Linked DNA regions of Homo sapiens: all the other regions are linked to region 7. The links are contacts of gene promoters, found by promoter capture Hi-C in blood cells and fetal thymus (Javierre and others, 2016). All regions are on one chromosome and are shown on one strand. Each heading gives the region's core, a stretch centred on a gene start or on the middle of the fragment in contact. The rest is flanking DNA. Distances are from core to core; before and after follow the strand shown.

Region 1 (2,739 bases), core at 197-2,696, 560 kb before region 7:
TCTTTATCTCCTTCAATTCTTCTCTGATCTTAGTTATTTCTTGTCTTCTGCTAGCTTTTGGATTAGTTTGCTCTTGCCTCTCCAGCTCTTTTAATTGTGATGTTAGGGTGTCGATTTGAGATCTTTCTAGCTTTCTGATGTGGGCATTTAGTGCTATAAATTTCACTCTTAACATTGCTTTATCTGTGTCCCAGAGATTCTGGTACATTGTCTCTTTGTTCTCATTGGTTACAAAGAACTTCTTGATTTCTGCCTTAATTTCCGTATTTACCCAAGAGTCATTCAGGAGCAGGTTGTTCATTTCTATGTTATTGTGTGGTTTTGAGTGAGTTTCTTAATCCTGAGTTCTAATTTGATTGCACTGTGGTCTGAGAGACTGTTTGCTATGATTTCTCCCATAACCGAAGTTCTGTTGTGTTGCCATTTGATTCCTTTCTCTTCCTCCCTTGTGTGATTGCTTTATAAAAACTGTGAGTTTTATATTTCTATATGTTTTTGTGATGGTGAATATCAACCTTTTGTTTCCATGCTTAAGACACCTTTGAACATTTCCTGTAGGGCTGGTCTAGTAGTAAAAAATTCCCTCAGCATTTGTTTATCTGGGAAATAGTTTATTTCTTCTTCATTGGTGAAACTTATCTTGATAGGATATAAAATTCTTGGCTGACAGTTTTTTTTTCTTCCAGCATTTTGAAAATGCCATCTCATTCTCTTCTGTTCTGTAAGATTTCTGCTGAAAAGGTCTGCTGCCAATGTGATGGGGTTTACTTTATAGATTACTAGAAGCTTTTCTCTTGGCTAATTTTAAAATCTTTCTTTCATGTTGACTTTAGATAGTCCGAGTATAATATGTAGTGCTGAAGTCCTTTTTGCAATGTATCTGTCTGGAATTGCTGGGGCTCCTAGATCTGAATGTCTGACTCTTTTGCTAGACTTGGGAAGTTTTCATTGATTATTCTCTTAAATGGGTTTTCTAAACTTTTTGTTTTATCTTCCCCCTTGGGAATACCAATAATTTTTAAGTTTGGTTGGCTTAGGTAGTCCCAGACATCTCAAAGGCTTTGTTGCTTCTTTTATTTTTTTTTCCTTATTTTTGTCCGACTGGTTGATATAAAAAAAACTGTCTTTAAGTTCTAAGATTCTTTCTTCTGCTTGGTCTAGTCTGTTATTGAGATTTTTGAATGTATTTTGTATTTTCTTCACTGGATTTTTTAGTTCCAAAAATTTTTTTTAAAGATATCTTCTTGGTAAATTTCTCATTATATCCTGAATTGGTTTTCTGGTTTCTTTGTATTGATTTTCAGATTTCTATTGCATCTCACTTAGCTTCTTAATAATCAATATTTTAAATTCTTTATCTGGATTTTTGAGGAATTATTTTTTATTGGAATTTGTTGCTGAAAAGCTGTTGTGATCCTTTGGTGGTATCAGATTTCCCTGCTTTTTCATGTTTTCTGTGTCCTTTCATTGGTATCTGCACATCTAATGTAGCAGTTCCTTGTTCCAGTTTTTTGAAGTTGCTTTTGTAGGGGAGAATTTCTCCTAAAGATGTATGTGTGCTGTTGGTTGAGTAGGATATTTTGGCTTTGATTTTGGGTACCTACAATAGTGTGATTTTTAAAACTTACTTCTTTGGCAGTGCATAGGATGAGTGATATCTGTTATTTCCTTGGTGGCTTAGGATATAGTTATCAGCTTAGGTTGTGGCGAAGTTTCGTTGGAAACTTAGATGCTAACTGAACCAGTCTTTAGGCCCCAGTAGTTACAGCAGTGGAGTGAATGTTCCTGTTTTAAGCTCCAGAGCAGCATAAACTGGCTTTGTTGTTAGTGGGTCTTGAAGGGCTAATCCTTGGGCCTCTATGTGGCTTGCTTAGAAGCTAGTAGTGGGAGTGGTGTTTCATGTGTGTGGGTGAATTCTCAGGCCCCTGGGCATCTGGTACAGTGTGGGTGATGGCAGTAGTGGTGGTGGAGCAACCCACTGGTACTCAAGTAGTCCATGTTGGTGTTCCTACCAGCTGTGATGGGTTGGGTGGGCTAGTTCCTGGTTCCACAGCCACTCATAGTAGGGTGGTGTGTATTGTGCTAAGTGTGTTTAGGAAAGCTTGGCCTTCTCTGTCCTTCCCCTGGCTGGGTGTTGGCTGCAGCCACATCTCCTTGAACTCAGCCTGAAAGTGCGTCACAACCCACAGTTAAACCCTCAAAATTATGCCAGTTCTGGGCTTGTGACCAGAGAGGGTGGGGCCCTCAGCCCTCCCTCAGGTAACCAGCATAGAAAAGAAGCTGTGGGGAGTGTGGTCCACTTAGTCTTAATCTCACAGCAGTGTGTAGCAGGATGGTGAGTATTGTCCTAGGTATGCATGCATAGGATAGCCTTGTTCCCTGTTCATTCTTGGCTAGTTGGCAGCTGCAGTGATTCAGCCTGAATTCAGCCTGAGATTAGGGCACAGCCCAGTGTTAAACTCTCAAAATGGTGCCTTGGGGCTGAGACCAGAAAGGGCAAGCTCCCTTCAAGCAAGCAGCATGGGCAAGAAGCTGTGGGGAGTGCAATCCACTCACGTCTCAGTCTCAACAGCAGCCTGCAGCAGGGCAGTAGGGACCCTTCCAGGGGTGCATGGAAGTGCCTGGTCTCCCCTGTCTCTCCTTGGAGCAATGCAATGGCAGCAGCCATGTCTGTAGATCTCTGGTATCTAGGTCTCAAAATGGCACCAAGGTGAGGCTGTGTGGATGACTGTGAGATTC
Region 2 (2,906 bases), core at 176-2,675, 590 kb before region 7:
AGACTCCATCTCAAAAAAAAAGTGGGGATTCAGGGTGCTATAGACAAATTGTAGAGTGTAGTAAATTATTCACCTAGTCCCCTTCCCAAATGAGATAACTTTACATCTGTGAAAATGCTACAACTGGCCTGGCATGGTGACTCACACCTGTAATCCCAGCACTCTGGGAGGCCAAGGTGGGTAGATTGCTTGAGGCCAGAAGTTCGAGACCAGCTTGGCCAACATGGCAAAACCCCGTTTCTCTGAAAATACAAAAATTAGCCAGGTATGGTGGCGTACGCCTATAGTCCCAGCTACCCAGGAGGCTGAGGCAGGAGAATTCCTTGGACCCAGGAGGCAGAAGTTGCAGAGATTGCACCACTGCACTCCAGCCTGGGTGACAGAGCAAGTCTCCATAAAAAAAAACAAAAAACAAAAAACAAAAAACAAAAAAAAGAAAAAGAAAAAGAAAATATTCTGACAACCATCTCTCCACATTAATGTCAACGAATGCAGAAACTGTACAATAACTGTGAGTAAAAAGAGAAAAGTCAACAAACACCAGAGCCATTGTCCCACATGCTCCTGCCTCACATGGTGGGGTTTGGAAGCAGGCAAAGGCAGATGAAACAAGCTCAGGGGAACATGCAGAGTGGACGCCAGTGAAGCGGCCTGAGTGTGGAGCGACCCCCAGCAGGATGAAATCCACCTGAAATCTGAAAATATTCAGAGCGTGACAGCAGAGAAGGGATCCGACGTATTCAGCCCTCTTGCTTTTTGAGTTTTTAATAATAACCATTCTGGCTAGGGTAAGATGGTATTTCATTGTGGTTTTAATTTGCATTTTCTTGATGATTAATGATGTTGAACATTTTTCCATATGTTTGTTGGCCATTTGTATTTCTTCTTTGGACTAGACATACTGTTTAAAGGGATAGACATTCTTTAAATGGGAAAATCTGATTTAAAAGGATGGTCTTTTGGGGAGAAAAGCTTCTGGGAGAGAAAAAGGCAAAAGAGAAGGAAGGAAGAAGCATGCTTTGGAACTTGGGTGGTGAAGAGGAAAAGAAAAAAGAGGAATTTTATTGTCCTACAAGACAAAAGAGAACTAAAAACTGGCAGCCTCCTAACCTGCCCATGCCACCAAAACAAACAAACAGATGAAACCCCACTGAAGTACCTGGACTTTTCCAGACAGAAAAGAAATTAAATGAGAAATCTTCTAAAATACTGCAGTATCATAGAAATGAATAAAAGGAAAGTTTTTAGAGAAATAGTTCAGAAAATGAGGGAATGCATTTGCATGCAAATCAACTGAGAAAAAGTCCCTTCCTGAAAAACAACCATGAAGCAGAAGAAAATTGTAGGTCTACGTTCCAAAATGAATTAAATATACAGTCATGCTTCGCTTCACGATGGGGATAAGTTCTGAGAAATGCGTCATTGGGCGATTTTGTCATTGTGTTGTGTGACCATCATAGAGTTTATTTATGCAAGTCCAGATGGTATACTTACTACCCACCTGGGCTGTGTGGTCTAGCCTATTGCTCCTTGGCTACAAACCTGTATAGCAGGTTACTGGACTCAATACTGTAGGTAATTGGAACATAATGGGAAATATTTCTGTATCTAAACATAACTAAATATAGAAAAGGTACAGTAAGAATGCAGCATAAAAATGGGGTACCTGTGTGGGGCACTCCCTATGAATGGAGTTTGCAGGACAGGATGTTGTTTGGGTGGGTCAGTGAGTGAGTGGTGAGTAATGTGAAGGCCTAGGACATTACTGCCCCTTTAGACTAAGCTAACTTTATGAAACAATGTTTCTTCAATCACAAAAGTAACTTTAACTTACTATAACTTTTTTTACTTTATAAATGTTTAATTTTTAAAAGCTTTTTGATTCTTTTGTAATAACACTTAGCTTAAAACACATATTGCATAGCTGTACAAAAATATTTTCTGTCTTTATATCCTTGTTCTATAAGCTTTTTTCTATTTTTATTTTTAAAACTTTTTTCTTAAAAATGAAGACACAAACACACACATGAGCCTAGGCCTACACAGAGTCAGGATCATCAGTATCACTGTCTTTCACATCTTGTCCCACTGGGAGGTCTTCAGGGACAGAAACATGCATGGAACTGTCATCTCCTGTGATAACAATGCCTTCTTATGGAATACCTCCTGAAGGACCTGCCTGAGGCTGTTTTACAGTTAACTTAAAAAAAAATAAGTAGGAGTACACTTTAACGTGATGAAAGTACAGTACAGTAAATACATAAACCAGTAACAGTCATTTAGTATCATGATCGAGCATTATTTATTGCACATAATTGTATGTGCAAGACTTTTATATGACTGGCAACACAGTAAGTTTGTTTATACCCACATTGCCACAAACATGGAATGCATTGTGCTATGACATTGCAATGGCTACGACATCACTAGGTGATAGGAATTTTTCAGCTCCATTAAAATCTTATGGAACCACTGTCCTCTATGTGGTCCATTGTTGACTGAGATGCCATTATTTGGTGCATGAAGGTGAAGCAAGCATTTGAGGATCTGGAATTCAAAAATTAAGAGCAGAAATGGAACAAAAAACAGGGAGAAAAAAAAGAGTTCCTTAAACTCAGGAAAGAAATGGTAGAAAAAGACAAAATTGTCTCAGAAATGAAGAATAAATTACAAGATGTACAAGGGAGAATGGACCAAATGAACATTTAAGAAGGGGCAGGAAAACAGGAAGACACCAAAGAAATGAAAATGAGTAGAGAAAAAGGTAAAAAGTCTCAGAAAGTAGTAAAAATGGAAGACAGGCAAAGAACAAATAATATTCATGTTATCTGAGTCCCCGAAGGAGGAAAATAAAACAAAGGAACAGAACTAACATTTAAAACTGTAATCTAAGAAAATTTTCCAAA
Region 3 (3,016 bases), core at 64-2,563, 660 kb before region 7:
ACACCTCTGGCACTGCAACCTGGAGGCCAGCCTCACCTCCCAGTCCTGACCTGCCTGCCCCTGACAGTCCAGACCTACTGTGCATGTCGCTGGGCTGCTGAGAAGCATCTTGGGGTATTTAGGCAAACTGTGCCCTGCCAGACCTTTTAGGTGTACATGGGGCATTTTCTTCCACCCCCCTCTCCTTTTCTTTCTCTCTCTTTTTGGTGAGCTCCTCTTCCCCTAGAATCTATAGAAAAGAAACCTTGAACTCGAAGCCTGACCTGCTTCCTTGCTTTGGTCTGCTGCCTTCCCTCTTCCCTTCAGCTCTGGGCTTTGTGCAGGGAGACAGTGACCCCATGAACGTGCGTTTCCTGCCTGACATCCTCTGTCCTATTGGGAAGTCACTCCCACTCATTGGAAGTCACTTAGCCCTATTCCCTCTTCTTGGGCCCCCCGCAGGGCTCAAGATATTTCTCTGACAAGGCTGCTGAGTGAATTGATAAGTGATTTGGAAACAGACAAGGCTAGGTGGCAAGGAAAAACACTACTCTCCCATCTGTCACCCTCTTCCTAAAAGGGTAAGTGTGGATGACTGTATTTTGGCTGCAGGGGGTGTGAGGACTCTTCCTATCTGACTTCCAGGAGAGATGGCATTAGCCCTGTGCCTTTGGGTCTCTGGGTCTCTATTTCTTTACTTGTAAAATGAAGAGGTTCGTAAAATGTAAAATGATGACCACAATCTCTTCCATCTTTAAATTGCATGGCTCTTTCCTTGCAGGTGGGATGGCAAGAGCTCATGTGTAGCTGGCTGTGGTTTAGGAGAGGTCACTAAGCTTTGCTGGGATCTAGGTGGGGGCAGCATATTTGGCCTGGGGAATAAGTGTTTCCAGCTCTGAGGTTGATAGCCCTGGAGGCTAAGCCAGATTGATCAAGATGACAAGACACCAAAAGTGCCCTCTAATTAATTACCTCTTGTAGCAACTGAAAAATTCATATGAGTCTCACTAAGACAATTCATCTTTTCTTCCTTTTTCAGGTGTCTTTCAGTTATGGAAAAATACTTTGGGCAACATAGAGCAATTGTTTTTGCTAAGTGTGGTGCCTGGTGCAGTAATGGAACTGGCTAGCATAGAAAACAGATAGTTTTAAGTAGTTTTAGTTGTGATTTGGTTGTTGCAATGAAAGCTCCTGTAATCCATGGTAACTATTGTGCTATATCTTTGTGCTATTTTCTTGGCATCCTACCATCAAAATCACCTGGGATTTTTCTTTTTCTTTTTCTTTTTCTTTTTCTTTTTTTTTTGAGGTGGAGTCTATAGCTCTGTTGCCCAGGCTGGAGTGCAGTGGCACGATCTTGGGTCACTGCAACCTCCACCTCCTGGGTTCAAGCGATTCTCCTGCCTCAGCTTCCCAAGTAGCTGGGATTACAGGCACGTACCACCATGCCTGGCTAATTTTTGTATTTTTAGTAGAGACAGAGTTTCACCATGTTGGCCAGGCTGGTCTTGAACCCCTGACCTCAAGTGATCCACCTGCCTTGGCCTGCCAAAGTGGTGGGATTACAGGCGTGAGCCATCATGCCCGACCGGATTTTTCTTAAAAAGATCACAAACCTACTCCACAGGTACTAAATAAAAATATCTGGGAGTGAGGCTCAGGAATCTGTGCTTTAAATACGTTTTTCAGGTGCTCTTATGCATGCTAAAAAAAAAAACTGATTCAGAGCCTATGCCACATAATTTCCACTGTTATATGCCATGATGCTATTTATTTCTTTATTGTTTAAATGTGTGCCACCCTTGCCTTTCCTAACTTGATTGTAAGCTTTTGGAAGGCAGCACACCAGCCACTTCTTTTTCTGTAGTGTCAGCACATATTGGTGCTATACACCTCTGAGGTTTACAGGGTGTTCTGTGGATTTGTAACCCCACAGCTTGACACAGCTCAGGGATTTGGGCAGTAGCTGCCCATCTTTATTAGTGTGTTTTCACGCTGCTGATAAAGACATACCTGAGACTGGGTAATTCATAAAGAAAAAGATATTTAGTGGACTTACAGTTTCATATGGCTGGGGAGGCCTCACACTCATGGTGGAAGGGGAAAGGCACGTCTTACATGGTGGTGGCAAGAGAGAATGGGAACCAAGCAAAAGGGGTTTCCACTTATAAAACCATCAGATCTCGTGAGACTTGTTCATTACCACGATAACAGTGTGGGAGAAACTGCCCCCATGATTCAATTATCTCCCACAGGGTTCCTCCCACAACACATGGGATTATGGGAGCTACAATTCAAGATGAGATTTGGGTGGGGACACAGCAAAACCATATCACCATCCTAGGGAGGAGGATGTGGTGAGGGCAGAGAGAGGTCAGGTTTGATTCTCTGGATGCATTTGCCTCTTTCCCCTCTTTTCCTGGAAAGCATTTGGTCTCTGGGATCCTTCCTCTCCCTGGAAGTTTGGGTAGTTTGGCACTGGATAAAGGGTCCATAAGGAATAGCTGGGCTCTGAGAATGGCACGGAGGAAGGCAGGGATGAAAATGACAAATACAAGTCATTGGGATCCCTAATGACTGTCTTGGTTCCTACAGGGAGGGTGATGTGGGGAGGTGAGGGATGCAGGACAATGCTGAGGCTCCAAGGAACCTCAGCCCTTGGGAAAAATTAGCCACATGGCTCCTGGATGCAGGTTTTTGCTTAAATGGTGCAACTTTACGAAGTTACATCTTCTTTCTGCACATGGCAGAGAGAGTGAGAGAGAGAAAGAGAGAGAGAAAGAGAGAGAACGCTAGAAGTTGCATTAATTTCTTGGTGAGGGAGAAAAGCCCAGCTGGATGGAGTGAGTAAGAGACAGACCTCTAGGGGCAGTGATTGTAGGGTAGGGTGGCAGGCTGTGGGGTGGTGGTGGTGGCTCAGAAGAACTTTAGTGGCTGTGTCAAGGAGGGAACCAGTGGTTATGGGGGTCTCTAAGCCCCAGTGGCGGTGGCACTGGGGGAGAAAATAGCTTGGCTCTCTGGCACTGGCTGGCTCCAG
Region 4 (2,820 bases), core at 308-2,807, 610 kb before region 7:
ACCTTATAGCAGTGTGAGAACAGACTAATACACCATGATACACATAAAGGAAGAGGATGTTTCCAGAACCCTTGATGCACCTCTAGTTGTATCCCTGTCTTCAAAGATAACCATAAACATGACTTTGGGCGAATATTTCTGTTGCATTTCTTTCTATTTTTACTGCACATATTATGTTAATTGTGTGACTGTGGGAAAGTCACTTAACCTCTCCGTGTTTCAGTGCACTCATCTGTAAACTGGGAATAAGAAGAGTACTTATCTCACAGAGTTGTTATAAGGATTAAATGAGTGCAATTAATTAAATATGTACAGTGTTCAGACTAGCATCTGGCATAAATACTATATAATAATTTGTTATTTTAATTAAGTCCTAAACAATATATTATTTATTTTGCCTGTTCTTAAGCTTTATATAAATGAAATTATACTGTACATATTCTTCTGTGACTTGCTTTTTTGGTTCAGTACTGTCTATGAGGGATTTATTCCTACTGATGTGTGTGAACAGTTCTTCATTTTTACTGCTTTGTAGAATTCTATTGTAAAAATATACCCCAATTTATCCATCCTACACTTGATAGACATATTTTAAAATTTCTTGTTTTTATGAACTGTGCTGCTATGCAAAGTCTTACACATACTTCCTAGTGTCCATGTGTTGGAGTTTCTCTAGGTAATATACCTGGGGTGGAATTGCAAGATTATATAATATGCACATTCTCTATCTTCTATGAATCTTAATATTTCTTTTATATTTTCCAATTCTTTGTCTCCCTATGCTGCGTTCTGGGTAATTTCTTCAAAACCACTATAACGGATGGAGTCAGTGGTCCGTCTGTATGTATCCCTCTGTCTTTACCACATCAGTATGTCTGCCTAGCTTTTAACTGCCAACATCTGAATTTCATTGCTCTGGTTTTCAGAGCCCACTTTGCCACTCCTGTGAAGGTCAGAAGTGCCTGGCAATTAACGGCTTAGCAGGAACAGCCCTCAACCAGTGACCGATGGGTGAATGAACACAGCAGCTCAAGTGGGACAGCCTTGAGGTATGTGTTCTAGATGGGCTTCTGGAGTGCCTCCAGCATGATGAAGCTCCAGTTTCCCACAGTGGTAAAAAGCTCAGTATCACCTTAATTGGCTACTTTGCCTTCTCTGTGCCTTTTACTCACTTCTTCACTGGTGTTTCTTTCCCCTCCCAAATTAACTACTTACACTCAAATCCTTGTCTCTCAGGGCTGGCTTTAAGAGAACTCTGAGATATCTGTATATCTGTTCTTCTAGTTCACTAATTCTCTCTTTAGCTGGGTCTAATCTACTGTTAAACTTTTCATGAAGTTTCTAATTTCAGTTATTTTATTTTCATTTTTAGAATTTCTATTTGGTTTCTTAGTATATCTGCTTGGTCACCTTCCATAGTCCCTGATTCTCTATCAGTCTTTTAATTTATATTTTTAAAAACAATATTATTCATTCTTATTTTGTAGTCGATCTTTGGTAATTCCAACATCTACTGTCTTTGCCATTCTGATTCTGTGGTTTGTTGTTTCTGCCTCCTCTTCCTCATGGCAGTTTCTTTCCTGTAGTCTTCAGTGATTTTTGATTGTGAGCTTTGTCTGTGAGACTTATTTGAGGCCTGGTTTAAAAATATATATTTTTCAGGTAGGATGCTCATTTGGTTTTTCTAGGTGCCTGGGGGCATTTATCCACCTGGGACACTTTAAATTCCATTTTTGGCTTGAGGTTTCTTTTTCGTTATAGAGGTGGTTTGAGTTCTTATTCTAAATCCCTTAAATGTACATTTGTGGTTAGGAATTCTTAGGGTAGAATTTTTTCTTTCTTTCTCTTTTTTAGCTTCACCAAGAGCCAAGATGCGATAATAATGTATCCTACTAACTCCCTCTGTGGGGTATTTTTCCCCCTAGGTCATCCACTTAGAAAAGGATGTTTACCCTCTTGGGATCGCTGCTTTAAAAAGTGAATATCTTCAATTTAACCTCACATCCAGTTAAGGCCCCAGGCTTTATCTTCTTAGACCCCCAAAATAAATTTCCAGCTTGAACACTAGTTATTTCTTTCAATTTGAGCTTTCTTATCTTTTCTGGCCTTCAGAGAATACCTTTACTTTCTTGGTAGCTCATTCATGTGTTTAAAAGTTTTCATTTTGGAATGTATCCAGCTTTTATCAGTGTACTGTATTGGGAGAGTTTTCTCTAAACATCTGATCCACAATATTGTCATTTAAGGCTCCAACGTGCTTTGCAATAGTGATGTATCTTGCTGGCTTCCTCCTTTTCTTTTTAATATTGAAAATTCTTATTTTCTCCCATATATTTGATAATCCCAGTATCAGTTCCTTCAACCAATATTGAATGTGCCCAATTATGTGCCAGGTATTCTTCTATAACTTTCCTGTGAATGAATCAGGCAAGGCCATGGTCTTGTGGAGCTCACATTCCAGAGACAGTGTAAACCCAGAATTTCATTGCTATTATGCCATTGGGGCAGCTTTGAAATATACAATGTTAACAGTTATGCAAGGCTGAGAAAGATAGTGAGCAGTATTTTGTGTTTGGTTGCTGATATCTGCAAGTCAAAATAGGAAGAAATTATGGCATATTAATTTTTCTGCTTGGAAAGGTTAATGAATTGTATCTAGGTCTGAAGATGCAAGGTAGACAAGAGGTAAATGTGGATAAGCTTATTTTTGTGCATACAGAGGAGAAGAAGGAATGAGATTCTCATTCATGCAGCGTTATGCAAGGTGCTTTATATGTATGTTCCCATTTAATTCTGACCCCTTCCCAAGTAAATTCCACG
Region 5 (2,886 bases), core at 260-2,759, 630 kb before region 7:
GTACTGTTGCAGTAAGATGCCATTTGTGTGCTCTTGGGAATGGTAGGGTGGGGTACAGGACATTGGGTGGAAGACAGGTTGAGAAAGACCCCTAGACAGCTGGCAGCCATCATCACCAAGAGAGATAGCAGAAAAACAAGTGGAAGCTTCAGTTGGGATTATGCGAGAAGAGAGGTCAACATTGGCACCAACCGGACCAGCGACACTCCTTCCATTTGCACACCTGGCTGTTAGCACAGAGAGTTAGAACCAGGACTCCAAGATGAAAAGAAGTTTGAGTGCTTCTTAAGAAATGAGCCAAGGACCTGGGCAGAGGGCAAGTCCAGGTTCGGAGTCCACTCAGACCTAACATCAGGGTAAACCCCACTTGCCCAGGCCAAGTGTATTAGTCAGCGTTCTCTAGAGGGACAGAACTAATAGGATATATGTATATATGATGGGAGTTTATTAAGGAGAATTGACTCAGACAATCACAAGGTAAAGTCCCACAACAGGCCGTCTGCAAGTTGAATAACAAGGAAGCCAGTGGTGGAACTGTCTGAGTCCCAAAACCTCAAAAGTAGGGAAACCAACAGTGCAGCCTTCAGTCTGTGACCAAAGGCCTGAGAGCCCTTGGCAAACCACTGGTGTAAGTCTAAGAGTCCAAAGCTGAAGAGCTGAGAGTCTGATGTTCGAGGGCAGGAAGCATCCGATACAAGAGGAAGATGAGGGCCAGAAGACTCAGTAAGTCTGCTCTTCCATCTTCTCCTGCCTGCTTTATTCTAGCAGTGCTGGCAGCTGATTAGATGGTGCCCAACCAGATTGAGGGTGGGTCTGCCTCTCGAAGCCCACAGACTCAAATGTTAATCTCATTTGGCAGCATCCTCACAGACACACCCAGGAACAATACTTTGCATCCTTCAATCCAATCAAGTTGACATTTGATATTAACCATCTGACTGAGTGTCCTGGAAACAAATACTCTAAGTTCAGTAAATCCCTCTCTTTCTCCTTCTTTCCTTTTCTCCCCCTTGTCCTCTTTTTTCTTCTCTGCTCCCTCTGTTGTAGCATTTTTTAAAAAATAGTATTTAGTTCTTGGATAAACTTTTCAGAAGAGAAACTGTGCCATAGATACCTGGACTAATTCATTTCCACACCTAAGGGGTGTGAACATCTGTGGTCTACAAAGAACATGGGTCTTCAACTCACCAGTGTGCAAAGTAAAAATCAAAGCAACACTCTCACCTTACTTCTATCCCCCCACTAATAATGTTTAAAAAAAATCTCAGATGGGCATGGTGGCTCATGTCTGTAATTCTAGCACTTTGGGAGCCCGAGATGGGGGAATCTCTTGAGCCCAGGAGTTCCAGACCAGCCTGGGCAACATGGTGAAACCCTGTCTCTACAAAAAATACAAAAATTAGTTGGGTGTGGTGGCACCTGCCTGTAGTCCCAGCTACTTGGGAGGCTGAGGTGGGAGGATCTCTTGAGTCAAGGAGGTTGAGGCTGCAGTGAGTCATGATCACACCACTGTACTCCATCCTGGGTGACAGAGCGAGACCCTGTCTCAAAAACAAACAGGTTGGTGCGGTGGCTCACGCCTGTAATCCCAGCACTTTGGGAGGCTGACGCGGGCAGATCACGAGGTCAGGAGATGGAGACCATCCTGGCTAACACGGTGAAACCCCGTCTCTACTAAAAATACAAAAAATTAGCCAGGCTTGGTGGCAGGCGCCTGTAGTCCCAGCTACTTGGGAGGCTGAGGCAGGAGAATGGTGTGAACCCGTGAGGCGCAACTTGCAGTGAGCTGAGATCGCGCCACTGCACTCCAGCCTGGGGGACAGAGCGATATTCCATCTCAAAACAAAAAACATAAAACAAAACAACAACAATAAACAAAACTCAACCTCAAACCATTTCATTAAAATTCATGAGAAAGTAGACATTGTATCAATGTTTCAGAAGTCATACATGTGATTAACTTATCCAAGCAACAAAAAGCAATCATATTACAAAACTATATTTAGCAATTCTCTCTCTCTCTCTCTCTCTCCCTCTCCCTCTCCCTCTCCCTCTCCTTCTCCCTCTCCCTCTCTCTTTTTGAGACAGGGACTTGCTATGTGGCCATGGCTGGTCTCAAACTCCTGGGCTCAGGTGATCCCCCTGCCTCAGCCTGTCTAGTAGCTGGGATTACAGGCAGGCACCACTGCACTCAGCTGGTTCTTTAATAAACACACCATGAATAGTGTTCTCTCAGGAGTCACTTCTAGAGACTCATGGGGTTACAGATCTTCTCTGAAGACTGTAGGACTTTGCAAGCATCAGGAGGCAGCCTGGATAGCGCCAGGCAAGAAAATGACCCATTGGAAAATGCTGAGTCCACATTTAATAACTAACATTTAAGGGGTGCCCGCTATATGCCAAACACTACACTATCATACTAACACATATAATTTTATTTAGTCATGAAACGGCATTGAGAGGCAGATATTAACAAAAAGGATCTGAGACTCATAGAAGGAATACAACCTGCCCGATTTGGCCCTGGCAAGTAAGTGGGAGCACTGGGCTTTGAAATGATGTCTTCTGAATTGAATTCCTGGGTTCTTCCTAGCCTACTGTCATTGCTTTGAATTCCTTGGACAAAATGACCCACAAAAGTACAAATCTTTACCTTCTCATTGCCTGTGTCAGCTATGGTGAAGAGAATAAATACAGGTGGGGAAGAGCCAAAAATCGGGTGCATTTGTAGATAGGTTGGTGCATGAAACAAACAGGAAGATATAAAGTCTTTTCTTCTTGGGTCATCAGACACTAATTAGGAGCAATGGATAACGATGCAAACCTATGAAGGCTTAATGCAGTTGCAAAGGGTTCACAATATGAAGCTTCAATGAAAGAGTGACT
Region 6 (2,874 bases), core at 75-2,574, 690 kb before region 7:
TTAATTGTTTTATCATCTTCATTTGATTATTCAGGAACCTGAAGCTCTGAGAGTCTAATGAACTTTATTACATGCTTGTTACTTCTGCTGGCTCTTGCTCACGATGGATTATTAAGTACTGAGTTGTGTGATTGTATGTTATGAGTTCATCTTCAGCAGGGCTCTATTTGTAAGAATGGTGGTGAGTGTGTCCCTCCTGTGTGGTTTTCTTCTGCCAGGTGCTCCAGTGATGTAGCCATCCTAGGATCTATTTATGTGTTAATTTTTTGGCTTGGGGGTTCCTGGGTCCTCACATGGCATTGACCCATAATTGACTTTCCGATGAGGAAACTAATTTTTTTTCTTTTTTTTTCTTTTTCTATTCAGAGTCTAGGTAGGCCAGAAGAGACAAACTTCTACGTCATTTCGTTATGCTGGTAGAGAGATATTTTTCTAGTCCACTCTTCCTGTGCTGTATGTGGAGTCAGGGGAGGGAGGATGGGTGGGTCTTACTTCAGCTTCCTACTTGGCAGTCTCAAGATCTTTCACTTTATCATTGTGTACATGTTAAAACCAAATTCCTAACGTTTCGTAAGTTGGAGATAAACCCGACCAATCCAGGTTAGTTGCCACATCAGCTCACTCACATAATGCTCTGGTTTTCAGAAACCAAATCTTCATTGCTGAGCTCTGGGGATTTCTCCTACTTTCTTGTAAGCTTAACTATGCATTCAAATGTTTTTACTTTTTTTTTTTTTTTTCCACAGAGTCTCACTCTGTCACCCAGGCTGGAGTGCAGTGGTGCAATCTCGGCTCACCGCAACCTCTGCCTCCCAGGTTCAAGCAATTCTCTTGCCTCAGCCTCCTGATTAGCTGGGATTACAGGCATGTACCACCATGCCTGGCTAATTTTTGTAGTTTTAGTAGAGATGGGGTGGCATGAGCCACCGCAGCTGGTTGCTATGCATTCAAATGGATGTTACATCTGGCATTCCTCTGTGTTAATGGTGGGAGAGTTTTCAAGACATTGAGTCTGTCCTGTTCATAAAATTAGAAATCTTCAGTATTCTAATCTATCAAAGGTCGTTGTCCATACCATACGATCATAGCCTAATTTCCATACATGGCACACACTTCCACAGGAGCATGCTGCATGTGCACATGTGTGCACCCACACAATACCTGTTTTGCCTACAGTAGACTCACCCTTAGTGCCCATGTGCAACTTTATCCCTTATGGGATCTCAGTGGAAGAAGTAAAAGTTTCAATGCCTAGAAAAGTATATGGGGTCAGAGGGAGTCCCTTCATTATCAACAAAAACTTTTCGGAAAATACAGCACAGTGGTTAATGGCTGTGTATCAGACAAGCCTGTGTTGAATCTAGCCTTTGCCAGTCTGTGACCTTGAGAAGAGTACTCAACCTTTTTTTTTTTTGGAGACAGGGTCTTGCTCTGTCACTGAGGCTGGAGTGCAGTAGTGCATTCTTGGCTCATTGCAGCCTCAATCTCCCAGGCTCAAGTGATCTCCTATTCAGTCTCCCAAGCAGATGGTACTACATGTGTGCACTAATTTTTAAAAAGTAAAAACAAATAATAAAAAAAAGTTTTTATAGAAACATCTCACTATGTTGCCCAGGCTGGTCTTGAACTCCTGGCCTCAAGCGATCCTCTCACCTTGGCCTCTGGGATTACAGGCATGAGCCACTGTGCCCGGCCTTACTCAACTTCTTTATGCTCAGTTTTCACATCTGTGAAATGAGAGTGTTAAATGTTGTGAGGGTTAAATGAATGCTTCAATAATGTTAGTTATTACATTTATTATTATTATTCTTTATTTGTATGCTTAAAAAAACTCAATCCCTTTCCAAAAGACTCTGAGGGCCAGTATATTAAGTTGAACCACAAAATCGCTTTCATGCGCGTCCGTGTGAAGAGACCACCAAACAGGCTTTGTGTGAGAAATAAAGCTTTTAATCACCTGGGTGCAGGTGGGCTGAGTCCGAAAAGAGAGTCATCGAAGGGAGATAAGGGTGGAGCCGTTTTGTAGGATTTGGGTAGATAAAGGAAAATTACAGTCAAAGGGGGGTTGTTCTCTGGTGGGCAGAAGTGGGGGTCACAAGGTGCTCAGTAGGGGAGCTTTTGAGCCAGGATGAGCCAGGAGAAGGAATTTCACAAGACAATGTCATCAGTTAAGGCAGGAACAGGCCATTTTCACTTCTTGTGTGGTGGAATGTCATCAGTTAAGGCAGGAACTGGCCATCAGGATGTGTACGTGCAGGTCACAGGGGATATGATGGCTTACCTTGGGCTCAGAGGCCTGACAATCGCCATGTTTGTAGATAAAAAATTATTAGATTGGTAGTTTTGTAAGGCTCAATGTAATACTTACTTCAGAACAGGGATCCTATTTTGAAGTTGTTAGAGGAAGACACATTCAAAGGATGAGACTTTGATAATAGAAACACAGATTGGGGCGGGGTGCAGTGGCTCATGCCTGTGAGCACTTTGGGAGGCTGAGGCAGGAGGATCACCTGAGGTCAGGAGTTTGAGACCAGTTTGGCCAACATGGTTGAAACTCCATCTCTACTAAAAATACAAAAATTAGCCGGGCATGGTGGTGGCCACCTGTAATCCCAGCTACTTGGGAGACTGAGGCAGGAGAATCACTTGAACCCAGGAGGTGATGATACAGGAGTTATTAAGAAATAATTTTTAGGCAGATAGTAAGGGTAAAGGTTCTCGGTGGAAATTTTCCTGGAATAAGAAACAATCCCTGAACCATCTCTTTTCTAACAGAAATGGTGGCTTGAAGGGTTGGGCCAGCAAGCTTTAATATGCAAATACAGGCCATTAGAAACTGGGTTCACTCAATATGGCGATTCCTGCCATCTTTTC
Region 7 (2,836 bases), core at 77-2,576:
TCTCACTAACAAGACTTGGCAAGATGTCGGGCGAATGATTTTTGGCTTCTGCACGGTCCCCACCGCGTGCGTGCACAAACCCCCAGCCAAAAGCCGCCTCTGGGAAATTAAATGCAAAAGAGAAATGGGGATGGGGAGGGCTGCTACGTGACCAGGAAAAAGGGATGCCCAGAAACATGAATCGGACCCAGAGCTGCTGAAGTCCTTTCAAAAGGTCATTCTTTGCGGGTACATTTTCCAGGGTCCAGCTCCGCAACAAATGTGGACCCTGTCATTTCCTGAAAGGATAATTCACAACTATGCAAGATAGGGTGAAGACGTTTCCCAAACCCGAAAACCTTGTTTTTCCCCCGACCAGGGTTAAATAAACATCTTTTAGGAAGCGTGGACAGGAGCGCAGCCTGCTCTCCTCCCTCGGAACACCATTCCGGCAATTAATGCCTCCCTTTGGGTAGTAAAGCAACAAACCCCACACCTCACTCCGATCCTGGGCTTCGGGCGGGAGGACTTTCTCTTTCATCTTCCAAGCAGGGGGTTGCCCACGTTCTTGGGGAAGCTATAAAACTGATTTAATGGCTTTAGATGAAAATCGATCACGCTAATGCATACGCTAACGTCTCAGGAATCGCATATTCAGAAAGGACTGGCCGGGCCGAAAGCGCACGGGGAGTCTGGGGCTAGGAGGTGTCAGGCCCCGCTGGGTGGGCAGCAGCGCTCCGGTCCCCTCTCCACTTGGGTAACCGGGAAAAACCTACGGGGCTGTCACGCGGGGAAGCGCGAAGGTGCCAAGGGATGAAAGCTCAAACCCGAGCCCTGGCCTCCTCAGCCGGCTATTTCCTTTGGCGCCGCCCGCCTAGCGGCGGGGTGCAGCGGCGGCACAGGTGCCGGTGTCGGGCTGGAGGCGCGGCGCAGGCTGGGCCCGCGGGTAGACGGCGAAAGGCGCCGCGCGCTCCATTCACAAAGTCCGGGCGCTGCCCGCCGCTGGCGGCGGGTCGGAGGCCGCCTCCCTCTTCCTCTCGGCCTCGGTTTTATGAATGGGCCTGATGGCGAGCACCCGGCGCCCTGTTTACTCCGCTCTTTGTGACGTCGAGTTCCCGTGACCGGGAGCCAGCGGCCGCGCTCCATTCAAGCTCCGGGGAGGGGGTGGGAGGAGGGGCCCGGAGGGGGCGGGGAGTCAGCGCGGGGGGCGGGGGACAGCGCGGGGGGCGGGGGACGGCGCGGGGCCCGGAATGGAACGGGGCGGGGCCTGGCGGGGTAGTACCTAGCGCCCCCTCCCCCGGGAGCGCGGAGGAGCATTAATAAACCTCTAAGCCGAGGAGAAAACTCTGGCTGGGGCAGTGCGCTGAGCGCCGGAGGAGCGTAGGCAGGGCAGCGCTGGCGCCAGTGGCGACAGGAGCCGCGCGACCGGCAAAAATACACGGGAGGCCGTCGCCGAAAAGAGTCCGCGGTCCTCTCTCGTAAACACACTCTCCTCCACCGGCGCCTCCCCCTCCGCTCTGCGCGCCGCCCGGCTGGGCGCCCGAGGCCGCTCCGACTGCTATGTGACCGCGAGGCTGCGGGAGGAAGGGGACAGGGAAGAAGAGGCTCTCCCGCGGGAGCCCTTGAGGACCAAGTTTGCGGCCACTTCTGCAGGCGTCCCTTCTTAGCTCTCGCCCGCCCCTTTCTGCAGCCTAGGCGGCCCGGGTTCTCTTCTCTTCCTCGCGCGCCCAGCCGCCTCGGTTCCCGGCGACCATGGTGACGATGGAGGAGCTGCGGGAGATGGACTGCAGTGTGCTCAAAAGGCTGATGAACCGGGACGAGAATGGCGGCGGCGCGGGCGGCAGCGGCAGCCACGGCACCCTGGGGCTGCCGAGCGGCGGCAAGTGCCTGCTGCTGGACTGCAGACCGTTCCTGGCGCACAGCGCGGGCTACATCCTAGGTTCGGTCAACGTGCGCTGTAACACCATCGTGCGGCGGCGGGCTAAGGGCTCCGTGAGCCTGGAGCAGATCCTGCCCGCCGAGGAGGAGGTACGCGCCCGCTTGCGCTCCGGCCTCTACTCGGCGGTCATCGTCTACGACGAGCGCAGCCCGCGCGCCGAGAGCCTCCGCGAGGACAGCACCGTGTCGCTGGTGGTGCAGGCGCTGCGCCGCAACGCCGAGCGCACCGACATCTGCCTGCTCAAAGGTAAACGAGGGCTCCGGGCGCTAGCTGGAGTCGGGGAGATGGAGGGGGTCTTGGCGGCCTGCGCCTTATTGGCACGGGAAGGAGTCCCCGGCGTGATTCGTGGTTGCGGGGATCCCCGCGCGCCCCTTTGTGTGTGTTGGTGTGTAGGGGTTTGCAAGGTTTCTGTGCAAGTGCGAGGTTCAAGTCCTCAGGGAAAGTGCGGACGGGTTTCTCCGGTCACCTGCAATTCCGCACCGTCCTAGCGAGGCCCCGTTTATTGACATTAACGGTCCTAGCCTCGAGGATGAAGCGACTCCTCTGCGCGGTCCATCTTGAGTCCCGGGAACAGTTTCCAAGTACCACGGGGCGCGTGGGGACAAGATAGGCCTGTTGGTTTGGCGTGCTGGGGCCCTACACTGAGCCGGACCGGGAGAATCCCAGAGGTGGAGAAAAGGTGAAGAGGGGTGGGCGCCGAGGTACAATTGGCCTTGCCAGTTTCACTGAAAACAAGACCCTGGCAAATGCAGAAAGGGAGATTGGGTTGCACACACTGTGTAGAGCGATCTGTATCTGCGTTCCCGCTGCCCAACTCCAAGCTCAGCTTGGAAGGTGGCCAATCCCCGTCCCGGGCTAGATCCAGGCTCTGGGAGCGGGAGGCTGAAGGACTGGGTATCTGGGGGACGCCGGGCGGAA

Evidence for each region. The method cuts DNA at HindIII sites, captures the fragments that hold promoters and counts their contacts. A CHiCAGO score of 5 or more calls a contact.
Region 1: a fragment that was not itself captured here is called in contact with the fragment with the promoter of DUSP4 in region 7 in 2 of 17 cell types (M2 macrophages and M1 macrophages); the score reaches 6.3 in M2 macrophages.
Region 2: a fragment that was not itself captured here is called in contact with the fragment with the promoter of DUSP4 in region 7 in 2 of 17 cell types (M1 macrophages and M0 macrophages); the score reaches 5.5 in M1 macrophages.
Region 3: a contact is called between a fragment that was not itself captured here and the fragment with the promoter of DUSP4 in region 7, in 16 of 17 cell types (endothelial precursors, M2 macrophages, M0 macrophages and 13 more). The highest score is 30.4, in endothelial precursors.
Region 4: a fragment that was not itself captured here is called in contact with the fragment with the promoter of DUSP4 in region 7 in 9 of 17 cell types (M2 macrophages, M1 macrophages, M0 macrophages and 6 more); the score reaches 7.0 in M2 macrophages.
Region 5: a fragment that was not itself captured here is called in contact with the fragment with the promoter of DUSP4 in region 7 in 10 of 17 cell types (M1 macrophages, endothelial precursors, M0 macrophages and 7 more); the score reaches 10.3 in M1 macrophages.
Region 6: a contact is called between a fragment that was not itself captured here and the fragment with the promoter of DUSP4 in region 7, in 14 of 17 cell types (M2 macrophages, M1 macrophages, M0 macrophages and 11 more). The highest score is 14.0, in M2 macrophages.

Annotation. Positions count from the first base shown.
Region 1 is chr8:29,909,796-29,912,534 of GRCh38, reverse strand. No RefSeq gene overlaps it. Among named protein-coding and RNA genes, the nearest start is that of LINC02209, 10 kb to the left of the region's middle. The HindIII fragment of the contact is 1,315 bases long and covers 789-2,103 here.
Region 2 is chr8:29,935,540-29,938,445 of GRCh38, reverse strand. The region is part of intron 2 of LINC02209 (long intergenic non-protein coding RNA 2209); the gene reads right to left. Among named protein-coding and RNA genes, the nearest start is that of LINC02209, 15 kb to the right of the region's middle. The HindIII fragment of the contact is 902 bases long and covers 975-1,876 here.
Region 3 is chr8:30,009,240-30,012,255 of GRCh38, reverse strand. No RefSeq gene overlaps it. Among named protein-coding and RNA genes, the nearest start is that of MIR3148, 53 kb to the right of the region's middle. The HindIII fragment of the contact is 991 bases long and covers 818-1,808 here.
Region 4 is chr8:29,963,879-29,966,698 of GRCh38, reverse strand. No RefSeq gene overlaps it. Among named protein-coding and RNA genes, the nearest start is that of MIR3148, 7.9 kb to the right of the region's middle. The HindIII fragment of the contact is 2,291 bases long and covers 412-2,702 here.
Region 5 is chr8:29,981,653-29,984,538 of GRCh38, reverse strand. No RefSeq gene overlaps it. Among named protein-coding and RNA genes, the nearest start is that of MIR3148, 26 kb to the right of the region's middle. The HindIII fragment of the contact is 2,721 bases long and covers 149-2,869 here.
Region 6 is chr8:30,034,685-30,037,558 of GRCh38, reverse strand. No RefSeq gene overlaps it. Among named protein-coding and RNA genes, the nearest start is that of SARAF, 47 kb to the left of the region's middle. The HindIII fragment of the contact is 1,249 bases long and covers 700-1,948 here.
Region 7 is chr8:29,349,174-29,352,009 of GRCh38, reverse strand. It overlaps DUSP4 (dual specificity phosphatase 4), which reads left to right and starts at 1,326. Exons shown (of 4, transcript NM_001394.7): 1 at 1,326-2,164. The coding sequence starts at 1,732. LOC124901924 (a long non-coding RNA gene) reads right to left here and starts at 1,036. Exons shown (of 2, transcript XR_007060876.1): 1 at 476-1,036. RefSeq lists enhancers at 409-518, 559-628, 1,327-1,826, 2,149-2,298, 1,827-2,328 and silencers at 819-958, 1,149-1,468. The HindIII fragment of the contact is 21,736 bases long and covers 1-2,836 here.